Linked DNA regions of Homo sapiens: region 1 is linked to region 2. Evidence: promoter capture Hi-C in human tissues and cell types (Jung and others, 2019). All regions are on one chromosome and are shown on one strand. The core of a region is centred on a gene start or on the middle of the fragment in contact, and the rest is flanking DNA. Distances in the headings are between cores, read along the strand shown. Region 1 overlaps IP6K1 (inositol hexakisphosphate kinase 1). Region 2 holds the start of IP6K1 (inositol hexakisphosphate kinase 1).

What was found. The method cuts DNA at HindIII sites, captures the fragments that hold promoters and counts their contacts. A contact is called where the count stands out against the background at its distance.
Region 1: a fragment that was not itself captured here is called in contact with the fragment with the promoter of IP6K1 in region 2 in 3 of the 25 tissues and cell types used here (liver, lymphoblastoid cells and mesenchymal stem cells).

Annotation. Positions count from the first base shown.
Region 1 is chr3:49,743,437-49,749,693 of GRCh38, reverse strand. It overlaps IP6K1 (inositol hexakisphosphate kinase 1), which reads left to right. Exons shown (of 6, transcript NM_153273.4): 2 at 1,526-1,876. The coding sequence starts at 1,654. Among named protein-coding and RNA genes, the nearest start is that of GMPPB, 23 kb to the right of the region's middle. The HindIII fragment of the contact is 3,402 bases long and covers 2,441-5,842 here.
Region 2 is chr3:49,782,289-49,788,126 of GRCh38, reverse strand. IP6K1 (inositol hexakisphosphate kinase 1) reads left to right here and starts at 1,585. Exons shown (of 6, transcript NM_153273.4): 1 at 1,585-1,773. RefSeq lists silencers at 722-886, 1,622-1,971 and enhancers at 1,062-1,131, 1,218-1,907. The HindIII fragment of the contact is 27,523 bases long and covers 1-5,209 here.

The sequences.
Region 1 (6,257 bases), core at 2,892-5,391, 41 kb after region 2:
TTTTCTTTCTTTTTGTCTTTTTTGAGACAGGGTCTTGCTCTGTCACCCAGGCTGGAGTGCAGTAGTGCCATCACAGCTCAGCAGTGGTATTTTGTACCCCATTTTGTCCATAATTACAAGATCCAGGAAAAACAACAACAACAAAAAACCCGATGGTTTGTCTCTTACATATGGGACCATATTCCTGCTCTACTAATACTTTTTCTTTTTTGGTCTTAATCTTTCTGATGTATTCTTGCTGACTACATTCCTAATTTAAAAATACACTCAGTGTTAAGAAATTTGCCAACTACTTTAAATATTTTGAGAGAAAATTGACATTATAAAGAGGGAGTTTGAGTACAAGGAGCTTTTCCTTGTCCCACTGGTTGGTATAGAGTCAGACAGAAAGGGAATGGTCATAAATTGACAACCATAGATTTAAAGTAGAAGAAATCTGAAGCCTGAATTCCTTTGGGAAAAGCAAAACCTTAATGATCCTATAGCAGGGGTCCCTGGGTACTGGTCCATGACCTGTTAGGAACTGGGCCTCACAGCAGGAGGTGAGTGGTAGGCGAGCAAGCAAGCAAAGCTTCATCTGTATTTACAGCTGCTCCCCTTGCTTGCATTACCGCCGGAGCTCTGCCTCCTGTCAGACCAGCGGTGGCATTAGATTCTCATAGGAGCATGAACCCTATTGTGAACTGCACATGTGAGGGATCTAGGTTGAGTGCTCCTTATGAGAAACTAATGCCTGATGATCTGTCACTGTCTTCCATCACCCCAAGATGGGACCGTCTAGTTGCAGGAAAACAATCTTAGAGCTCCCAAGGATTCTACATTATGGTGAGTTGTATAATTATTTTATTGTATATTACAATGTAGTAATAGAAATACAATGTACAATAAATGTACAGCCTCAATCATGCTGAAACCATCGCCCCCACACCCGTTCTGTGGAAAAGTTGTCTTCCATGAAACTGGTTCCTGCTGCCAAAAAATTTGGGGACCACTGTCCTACAGCTCAGCAATGAATGGCCTGCCTGGTCCTTGGCACCTTCAGTGGAGAATTTGGGAATCTCATGTGACCTAATTCCTCAGACAGAAACCCTTCCTCTGAGTGAAGGAGAGACCCTTACCAGTACTGGATATCCTAAGGAGTCTGAACAGAACAAATTCCCATTGCCTTCTGTTTTTTTCTGATCTCATCTTTGGGTGTGAAGTAAACCGGGATAGGTGCTTTCCTGATGGTTGTAATGTGCTGTAGCTCTAAAATAAAATCCTTTAGATAACTCAGAAGGGAGGTGGGAACTAGGAAAGGCAGAGAATGTGGGCTTCTGTGCACAAGATAGATGGAAGAGGCCAAGGTTGCATCATTCAGCAAAAATTTAACCAACTGCCTTTCATGTGCCACGTAGTATTGTACGTGCTAGGGATACACATAGTAGGGAACAAAACAAGAGTCCCTGCTCTCACTCATGGAGCTCCAGGGAAATTGTGACTCACCCAGTGTTTTGATTCCTTCTTCCTCTCTTCTTTTCTGTAGGACAGAATAATAAGCTGAATAGAATCTGACCATTGGCTTTCACCTGGCCAGGACCTTCTATGTAGCTCTCCTTTTGTGGCCCATGTGCTGCATCCTCTGCCCTCAGTGTGCAACTGGCCCCCAACGCAATGTGTGTTTGTCAAACCATGGAAGTGGGGCAGTATGGCAAGAATGCAAGTCGGGCTGGAGACCGGGGAGTCCTCCTGGAGCCCTTCATCCACCAAGTAGGCGGACACAGCAGCATGATGCGTTACGACGATCACACTGTGTGCAAGCCCCTCATCTCCCGGGAACAGCGCTTTTACGAGTCCCTCCCTCCCGAAATGAAGGAGTTCACCCCTGAATACAAAGGTCAGTCACTGGCCAGTTTAATGAAAGCAGCAGCCTTGGGCTTATAGACCCCTTGCCACAGTTTTTTCTTGGTTTGTTTGCCATGATATATCATTGTAGGTCTTTTTTCTCAAAGCACGAAGTCACTTTGTTAGATAAAATTAGAGGCTGAAAGCATCAGCAAGGTCTTTAGATCTTGAAAATTGAATTTATTAATAGGTAAAGCTGAGAAAAAGTCATAGCATTAAGTTCCATTGGTGGAAAAGAGCATGCTGTTGTCAGTGAATTTTCCCATTTGCTGTGACACTAGTCTGGGAGAGAAGAGGGAACATTTCTCTCGTCCCGGAGGCGGAATGGATACTTCCAGGTTAAAGCGGTTAGATAGCTGGCAGTGGTGCTGTGTGTATCCTGTGTCTATATGTGCTGGGGCAAAGAATTGTTGGTAAGAAATGCAGGGACTTTCTGGGGCCTGGAAGTCCTGATATTTGAAGGAAAAATAATTTATTTTAAAATATAAGTCAACTTTATAGAAAAGAACCTCATGAATATTAATTATACCAGAATTAACTAACTTTATTTTAAAATCTGATCTTTGTCAGTGTTTATAAATTTTTATGATTGCTCATTGTGTCTAAGTTTTTTTTTTACATTCTGCTTTATAACTTTAAGTTGTATGATTTCAGTCAGGTTAACACTGTCCTTTACTTAGGAGAGTTTCAATTTAGAAAAACCAGTGCTATAGAATTGACTTTTTGTTTCCTTAACTTTTTAAAAAAAATTTTGGTAAAATGTACATAACATAACATTCACCATTTTAAAGTGTATAATTTAGTGGCATTAACACATTCACAATGTTGTATAGCCACTGTCCATTTCCTGAATTTTTCATCATCTGAAACAAACTCGGTACCTATTAAATAATAACTCCCCATTCTTCCATCATCTGATCCCCTGGTAACCTCTTGTTTACTTTCTGTCTCTACAGATTTGCCTATTGTAGATATTTCATAAAAGTGAAATCATTACAATTTTTGACCTTTTGTGTCTGGCTTGGTTCATTTAGCTTAATGTTTACAAGGTTCGTTCATGTCATAGTGTGTATTAAAACTCCATTCTTGGCCGGGCACAGTGGCTCACATCTGTAATCCTAGCACTTTTTTTTTTTTTTTGAGAGTTTCTCTCTGTTGCCAGGCTAGAGTGCAGTGGCGCGATCTTGGTTTACTGCAACCTCCAACTCCCGGGTTCAAGCGAAGCGATTCTCCTGCCTCAGCCTCCCAAGTAGCTGGGATTACAGACATGTGCCACCACGCCCAGCTATTTTTTGTATTTTTAGTAGAGACAGGGTTTCACCATGTTGGCCAGGATGGCCTTGATCTCCTGACCTTGTGATCCGCCTGCCTCGGCCTCCCAAAGTGCTAGGATTACAAGCGTGAGCCACCGTGCCTGGCCCACTTCATTCTTTTTTATGGCTGAATAATATTTAATTGTAAGTGTATACCACATTTTGTTTATTCATTCATCTGTTGATGGACACCTGGGTTGTTTCCACCTTTTGGCTATTGCGAATAATGCTGCTGTGAACATTGTCTTACAAATGTCCATATGAGTCACTGCTTTTAATTCTTTTGGGTATATGCCTAGGGGTGGAATTGTCAGATCATGTGGAAGTTCTTTGTTTACCTTTCGGAGGAACTGCCAAACTGTTTCCCACAGTGGCTGCACCACTTTGCCTTCTTACCAGCAATGTACAAGGGTCCCTATTTCTCCACATCCTTACCAACACTCCTTTTCTTTTCTTTTTGTAGCCATCCTAGTGGATGTGTGTGGTATCTGTGGCTTTGACTTGCTTTTTCCTAATGTCTAACGAATGATGCAGAGGATTTTTTTGTTATTGTCTGTTGGTATACCTTCTTAAAGAAATGTCTATTCAAGTCCTTTGACCATTTTGAATTGGGTTGTTTCTGTCTTTTTTTTTTTTTTTTTTTGAGACAGAGTCTTGCTCTGTCGCCCAGGCTGGAGTGCAGTGGCACGATCTCGGCTCACTGCAATCTCCACCTCCGTGTTCAAGCGATTCTTCTGCCTCAGCCTCCCAAGTAGCTGGGATTACAGGCATGTGCCACCACGCCTAACTAAATTTTGTATTTTTAGTAGAGATGGGGTTTCACCATGTTGGGCAAGCTGCTTTCGAACTCCTGACTTTAGGTGATTTGCCTGCCTTGGCCTCCCAAAATGCTGGGATTACAGTCATGTGCCACCATGCCTGGCTAATTTTTGTATTTTTAGTAGAGACGGGGTTTTGCCATATTGGCCAGGCTGGTCTCAAACTCAACTCAGGTGACCTACCTGCCTTGGCCTCCCAAAGTGTTGGGATTATAGGTGTGAGCCACCATGACTGGCCTGGGTTGTTTCTTAATTGGCAGAAAGAGGTGAACCAGTTTTTAGGACATCTCAAGCTTTTTAAATTTCATTTTTATTTTAATTAACCTCAGGGATTTTACTTATGCTTGGAATGTTCTTTCCAGTACCCTTATCCACACCTGCTCCTCCAACCTTTAGTTTATTAGGTCTCCCCAGACACTTCTTCCCTGATCATCCTATATTATATTCTGCTCTGGAAACCATATTTTCAGTGATAGAACCTTACTTAGTTTCTTCATAGCACTTATCACAATCTGTATTTTTGTCTATGTGTTTGTTTTTCACATTAGTATGGAAGCTCCTTGAAGGTATGGACTTTTTTTTTTGTCTTTTACACTTATGAGTTCAGGGCCTGGCATCTAGTAGATGGTCAGTAAATACTTGATAAATGAATGAGGCAAAGCTTATTTGCATAAATGTACAGAAGCCTTGAACTTCACATTTAGTACTGCAAGCACTAACAGTTGATGATTGTAGCTGGTCATACTAAATAAATGAAAATTTGTTTTTAAACCTGCCAAGATATGAAATATTATTGACACTTTTTCTTAGCTTAATTGAGCTTAAACACCTGTGCTGATAGCAGCAATTAGATGTGTGTATGTGTGTGGGCTAGTAATCATACATGTATTTCTTAGCTCCATGTGCTGAAAGGGCCTAAAAGCAGTGATACTTCAGTAGCAATCAGTATATCTAGTAACCAAATCCTGAGTTTTCTAAATACCATTCTTACAATAAAAAGAAACAGAGCTCCTTGGTGAAATGGTTGGTTCCTGAGTTCGGGCAGGAAAATTATAAGACAAGCCTAGAACATCTTATGGTGACAGATAGTAAAGAAGTGGTCAAAAATCATGTCAGAAGTACGAAGAGCTAACTTTAAAGGAATTGAAGGGCCCAATCTAGAAGAATTTAAATGACAAAATATCCACAAGTCTATACTGATAAATACATGGATATGAAGGGACAACTCTTCCTTATAGAATTCTAATTTCTTTTTTTTTTTTTTTTTTTTTTTTTTTGAGACGGAGTCTCGCTCTGTTGTCCAGGTTGGAGTGCAGTGGCGCAGTCTCGCCTCACTGCAAGCTCTGCCCCCCGGGTTCACGCCATTCTTCTGCCTCAGCCTCCCGAGTAGCTGGGACTACAGGCTCCCGCCACCAAGCCTGGCTAATCTTTTGTATTTTTAGTAGAGACAGGGTTTCACCATGTTAGCCAGGATGGTCTCAATCTCCTGACCTTGTGATCCACCTGCCTCGGCCTCCCAAAGTGCTGGGATTACAGGAGTGAGCCACCGTGCCCGGCCAGAATTCTGATTTATTTTGATTAATAAATATAGAAGGAATGATGGGAATAGAAGTCACCATTAGGCAGACAACACAGTAATACCATTCAGCACACACCATTAGGCATTACACACACCATTAGACATTACAACACAGTAATAATTGTGGCGCATTGTGCAGTGGTGCAATCATACCTCACTGCAGCCTCGAAACCATGGCTCCGCCGGGCATGGTGGCTCATGCCTATAATCCTAGCACTTTGGGAGGCCGAGGCAGGCGGATCACCTGAGGTCAGGAGTTCGAGACCAGCCTCGCCAACATGGTGAAACCCTGTCTCTACTAAAAATACAAAACTTAGTTGGGTGTGCTGGCAGGTGCCTATAATCCCAGTTACTTGGGAGGCTGAGGCAGAAGAATCACTTGAACCCGGGAGGCAGAGGTTGCAGTGAGCAGAGACCACGCCATTGCATTCCAGCCTGGGCAACAAGAGTGAAACTCTTGTCTCAAAAAAAAAAAAAAAACAAAAAAAAAAAACTATGGCTCAAGTGATCCTCCCACCTCAGCCCCCCGAGTAGCTGGGACTATAGGCACGCCACTACAACTAGGTAATTTTTAAAGTTTTTTGTAGAGACAGGGTCTTGCTCTGTTACCCAGGCTAGTTTTGAACTCCTAGCCTCAAGGAATCCTCCCACCTTGGCCTCTCA
Region 2 (5,838 bases), core at 336-2,835:
AAATCCAAGTTATCACAGTCTTTACTCGTCTGTTGAGTCTGTGGGCCTGAACCCCCTCAGGGTACTGGAGAACCTCCCTTTTTTTTTTTTGAGACAGAATTTTGCTCTGTCACCCAGGCTAGAGTGTGGTGGCGTGATCTCAGCTCACTGAACCTCTGCCTCCCAGGTTCAAGTGATCCTCCTGCCTCAACCTCCTGAGTAGCTGGGATTACAGGCACCTGCCATCACGTCCAGCTAATTTTTGTATTTTTAGTAGGGACAGGGTTTCACCATTTTGGCCAGGCTGGTCTCGAACCTCTGACCTCAAGTGATCCACCTTCTTTGGCCTCCCAAAGTGCTGGATTACAGGCATGAGCCACTGCGCCTAGCTAGGAGGACCTCCCCTTCTGAACCAGTTATGGTATCCCAGGGCCAGGAAGAAGCTGAAAGCCTTCTGTGGGAACAAAACAAAGCAAAACAAAAACGCTTCATGGGGCTTCCACCAAAGTTAGTGTTTTAAGGCACGCCTCAGGAACAGCAACTTGGAAGCAGGTTGTTCCAGGAAGTGGTTGTAGGCAGATTTTTCCTGAGTTCTTCCCCTGCTCTGAGGGCTCATTAAATCTTCCTCTGAGAAGCTCCACTTTTATCTTCATTTTACAGATGGGACAACCAAAGCTAAAGAGAGGCTAAGGCTCAAAAGTCAGAGTTAGCTAGTTGGGGCATTTGGGTGTGGGCCCAGGCCACGTAACTTCATCTGTTGTTCTAAGCCTGAAGCCAAGCCCAGAGTTAGGTGTTCTGTATGGGGAGCAAGGTGTGACCATCTTCCTGGGACCATTAGTCTGCTTGGGAGGCCGGTCATGACAGTCCAGGGCAAAAGATGCTGTCACAGGATCTCAAGACAAGATGCTCTAGGGAAGAGAAAAGGGAGTGCCCGCTGTGTGTCAGGACTTGTGCTAGGCTCTAAACCTCAGGCAGGAAAGCATGGGCAATGAGCCAGAGGCTGCTGTGGCAGCACAGACTGCGGTACCTCGAGGCTAGTAAGGGACAAAGCGTGGGAAGCTGGGATAGAGGCTCCTCACACTCTGAAACCAGCAGGAGGAGGTGCGAGACCCAGCACCTCCATTTCTAGAGGTGGCGTGACCTTGGCTCGGCCTCCCCTCTCTGAGCCTCAGTTTCCTCTCCAGAGTGAACTGGGGGCTGCACCCCCCTTCTCCCAGAGTGGGGGACAAAAAAACGAATAGCACACCGCTGAGATTCCCTGTGTGTGCGCAAGTGTATGACAAGACGCCGCCGGTACCGCACGAGGGCCAGGGACGCAGAGAGGCCAAGGGCGCTCCGGCCTCGTAGTAGCCAGCGAAAACTCCGCCGCCAGCCACTCCGGGAACGAAGCGCATGCGCCAACCCATGCCGTCACAGTCACGTGCCCCACGCTTTCGGCAGAGGCCCTGAGAGGCAGACTCTGACTGACACGTGAGCTGACCTGTCAGCAGGAAGCACTTCCCCTGGCGACGAGCAAAAAGACTGTTGATTGGGGATAGCACCCCCTCGGGGGCGGGTTCTTTGCAGTCCTGGTTACTATGACGCCCGGCCCCCGCCCCCTCGGCTAGCCGCCATCTTGTTGTTGATCCGTACCCAGTGGGCAGCGCCGGGAGCTGGACCAAGCGGCCGGTGAGAGGCCGCTGTAGCGGTGCTCAGCCACCTGTGCTGCCTGCCAGGGGGCGGGCCGAAACCTGGAGGCCCGGGGGGCCCAGCTCCCGTAGGGAGCCGTGGGCGCTCGGTGCCCGGGCCGGGCAGGTGAGTGACAGGAGCCGGGCCGATAGACCGGCCTGACGCCCGCGGGGAGGGCGGTGGCGGGCGCGGGGTTGGAGTGGGCGCGTGTGGGGTCGGGGCTCCGGTGGGGCCATCACTGGAACATCGCTCGAGCGTCCTGACCGGCCGCCCGCCGAGCCTCCCAGATGCTGGCACCGAAGCCGGGGGGACAGCCGGTGTGGAGGACGGAGAGCGCCAGTGCCTGAGGGTTGGCCGGCTAGTAGCGGGAAACCAGCTTCTCTGACCGAAGCTCTGGACTCCGCTGATCCGGAGCGCTAAAGTGTGTCCGGTGCCACCCTGATGCTCTCCTGGGAGTTATGTTGCTCCTGGCTGAGAAATAGACTTACCTCTTTCTTAGATAGCGTTCCTGCGAGTGATTTTCAGGACGCTGGATGCTAAGACTAGACGAAGCAAGCCAAAGCCCCCGCGAGCCAGGCAGGCCGGTGTCACGGCCCTATGATTATGGCAAGGGGGACCCTCTGCCTGGCTGCTGCTTCCTGAGACCCGTTCGGAACCTCACGTGTACCTCGAAGCTCACCGTTTTCCTCGCAAAGAACCTGGTTAAATGTCCATAATGGCTGAGTTTTATTTTGGAACATAATTTCTTTGGTTCTTCACCACCACTTTTTGGAGAGTGGTAATGTCTTCCTCTTTTTGCTTTAGGAGAAAGTGAGTATTATGGTGATGACTTGATTTTATCTCCTAAAGGGATGCTCGCCATAGGAGACAAAGGAAACGTAGGAGTGTCTTAGAATCGGAAAAAGAAACTTGTTTTTGTTGTGGATGATATGGAACTGGCAAATTAACTGTTTTTTTTCTTTTTTTTCTTTTGAGACAGAGTCTCTCGCTCTGTTGCCCAGGCCGGAGTGCAGTGGCGCGATCTCGGCTCACCACAGCCTCCACCTCCCGGGTTCAAGCGATTATCCTGCCTCAGCCTCCCGAGTAGGTAGGACTACAGACACGCGCCACCATGCCCGGCTAATTTTTGTATTTTTAATAGAGACGGGGTTTCACCATGTTGGCCAGGCTGGTCTCGAACTCCTGACCTCGTGATCCACCCCCCTTGGCCTCCCAAAGTGCTGGGGTTACAAGTGTGAGCCACTATGCCCGGCGCAAATTAACTTTTAACAGTACTAAAATTATCTTGCTCAGTGAAAACACCTTCAAGCCCCTTTCCTGTGAATTTGGGCAAGTTGGAGATCCTCAGTAGAGTGTGCAGGTCTAGGAAGAGTTCTCATTGCTCCAAAACACATTTCTCTTGACCTGTGGCCTCTTTGGTTCTTTGTACAGTCTTCTTGTATGTGGTCATAGAATATGCCTGCATGAGATGACTAAGAAGTCAAGCGACAATACTTTGTGCACTTTTTGTTTTGTTTTGTTTTGTTTTGTTTTTTTGAGATGGAGTCTTGCTCCGTTGCCAGGCTGGAGTACAGTGGTGCCATCTCGGCTCACTGCAACCTCTGACTCCCTGGTTCAAGCAATTTTCCTGCCTCAGCCTCCCGAGTAGCTGGGACTACAGGCACGTGCCACCACACCTGGCTAATTTTTGTATTTTTAGTAGAGACGGGGTTTCACTATGTTGGCCAGACTGGTCTCGAACTCCTGACCTCATGATCAACCCGCCTCCGCCTCCCAAATTGTTGGGATTACAGGCATGAGCCACCGCGCCAAGCCTACTTTTTTTTTTTTTTTCTGAGACGAAGTCTCGTTCTCTCACCCAGGCTGGAGTGCAATGGCACAATCTCAGCTGACTGCAACCTCTGCCTCCTGGGTTCAAGCAAGTCTCCTGCCCCAGCCTCCCAAGTAGCTGGGATTACAGGTGCGTGCCACCATGCCCGGCTAATTTCTGTATTTTTAGTAGAGACCTGGTTTCACCATGTTGTTCAGGCTGATCTCGAACTCCTGACCTCCTGATCCGCCTGCCTTGGCCTCCCAAAGTGCTGGGATTACAGGCGTGAGCCACTGTGCCTGGTCACGCGCCTAGCCTACTTTGTGCACTTCTATCAGGATCTTGTCACCTCTGAATGTATAATTTTGAAAGAGGCCAGGTGCGGTAGCTCATGTCTGTAATCCCAGCACTTTGGGAGGCTGAGGCGGGCGGATCACCTGAGGTCAGTAGTTAAGAGATTAGCCTATCCAAAATGGCAAAATCCCATGTCTACTAAAAATACAAAAATTAGCTGGGCGTGGTGGTGCATGGAGGCTGAGGCAGGAGAATCACCTGAACCCGGAAAGCGGAGGTTGCAGTGAGCTGAGATCGCGCCACTGCACTCCAGCCTGGGTGACAGAGTGAGACTCAGTCTCCAAAAATAAATAAATAAATAAATAATAAATAAAATAATAATTTTGAAAGAAACCAGCTCCTTGGTCAGGAGATCCTTTAGGAAAGCAGGTGCTGAACCCAGAGGACGCTGGCAGCTTGTTGCTGTTCGACTGAGTTTATACTGCACTTGTGAGGCAAGGGAGAAGTTGAGTAGTCTTTAGTTATTTATTTCATTGTCCTTCAGGGCCATTTTTTGAATCTTTAGTTCATTATAATCTTGGTAAGACCAGTTCCTTGGGCAGTTCTTGAAAGGAGGGGGATATTAAAATATTAGCTTTTCTTTCTTTCTTTTTTTTTTTTTTTGAGACGGAATCTCGCTCGGTTGCGCTGGCTGGAGTGCAGTGGCATGGTCTTGGCTTACTGCAAGCTCCACCTCCTGGGTTCACGCCATTCTCCTGCCTCAGCTTCCCAAATAGCTGGGACTATAGGCACCTGCCACCATGCCCGGCCAATTTTTTTGTATTTTTAGGAGAGACGGGGTTTCACCGTGTTAGCCAGGATGGTCTCGATCTCCTGACCTCATGATCCGTCTACCTCGGCCTCCCAAAGTGCTGGGATTACAGGCGAGAGCTACTGCACCCAGCAAAAATATTAGCTTTTCAAAATTGTCCCAAGCCCCTGCTTTTTTTTTTTTTCTGAGACAGGGTTTCACCATGTTGGCCAGGCTGGTCACTCCTGACAGGTGATCCACCTGCCTCAGCCTTGGCCTGGGATTACAGGGGTGAGACACCACACTGGCTGTCATTTGCATTTTTAAAAATTACTTATGTAGAGATGGGGTCTCAGTTGCCCAGACTGGGCTTGAACTCCTAGTCTCAAGTGATCCTCCTGTCTTGGCCTCCCAAAATGCTAGGATTACAGGCATGAGCCACCATGCCTGGCCTTTTTTTTTTTTTGAGACAGAGTCTCACTCTGTCGCCCAGGCTGGAATGCAGTGGCATGATCTTGTCTCACTGCAACTTCCGCCTCCTGGGTTCAAGTGATACTCCTGCCTCAGCCTCCCGAGTAGCTGGGACTACAGGAGTGCGCCAGCACGCCTGGCTAATTTTTTTTTTTTTTTTTTTTTTTAGTAGAGCCGGGGTTTTGCCATGTTGGCCAGGCTGGTCTCAAACTCCTGACCTCAAGTGATCCACCCACCTTGGCCTCCCAAAGTGCTGGGATTACAGGTGTGAGCCACCACACCTGGCCACGCCTGGCCTTTTTTAAGAGACAGTCTCTTAAAAACCTCCTAGGCTGGAGTGTAGTGACACAATTGTAGCTCACTGCAGCCTCCAACTCCTGGGCTCAAGTGATCTTCTTGCCTCAGCTTCCAAAGTAGCTAGGACTACACACATGCGCCACCATGCCTGGCTAATTTTCTTTGTCTTAATTTTTTTGTAGAGATGGGGGTCTCACTATGTTGCTCAGGCTAGTCTCAAACTCGTGGGTGCAAATGATCCTCCTGCCTCGGGTTCCTAAAGTGCAGGCATGAGCCACTGTGCCTGGCTTGTGATGGGCATTTTTAAGTGCAAATGTGTCAGACTGTTGTTATAATAGTAGACCCTCCAGGCCGGGCGCGGTGGCTCAAGCCTGTAATCCCAGCACTGTGGGAGGCCAAGGTGGGCGGGTCACGAGGTCAGGAGTTCCATACCAGCCTGACCAACATGGTGAAAAACCGTCTCTACTAAAAATACAAAGATTAGCCAGGTGTGGTGGCGTGCACCTGTAATCCCAGCTACTCAGGAGGC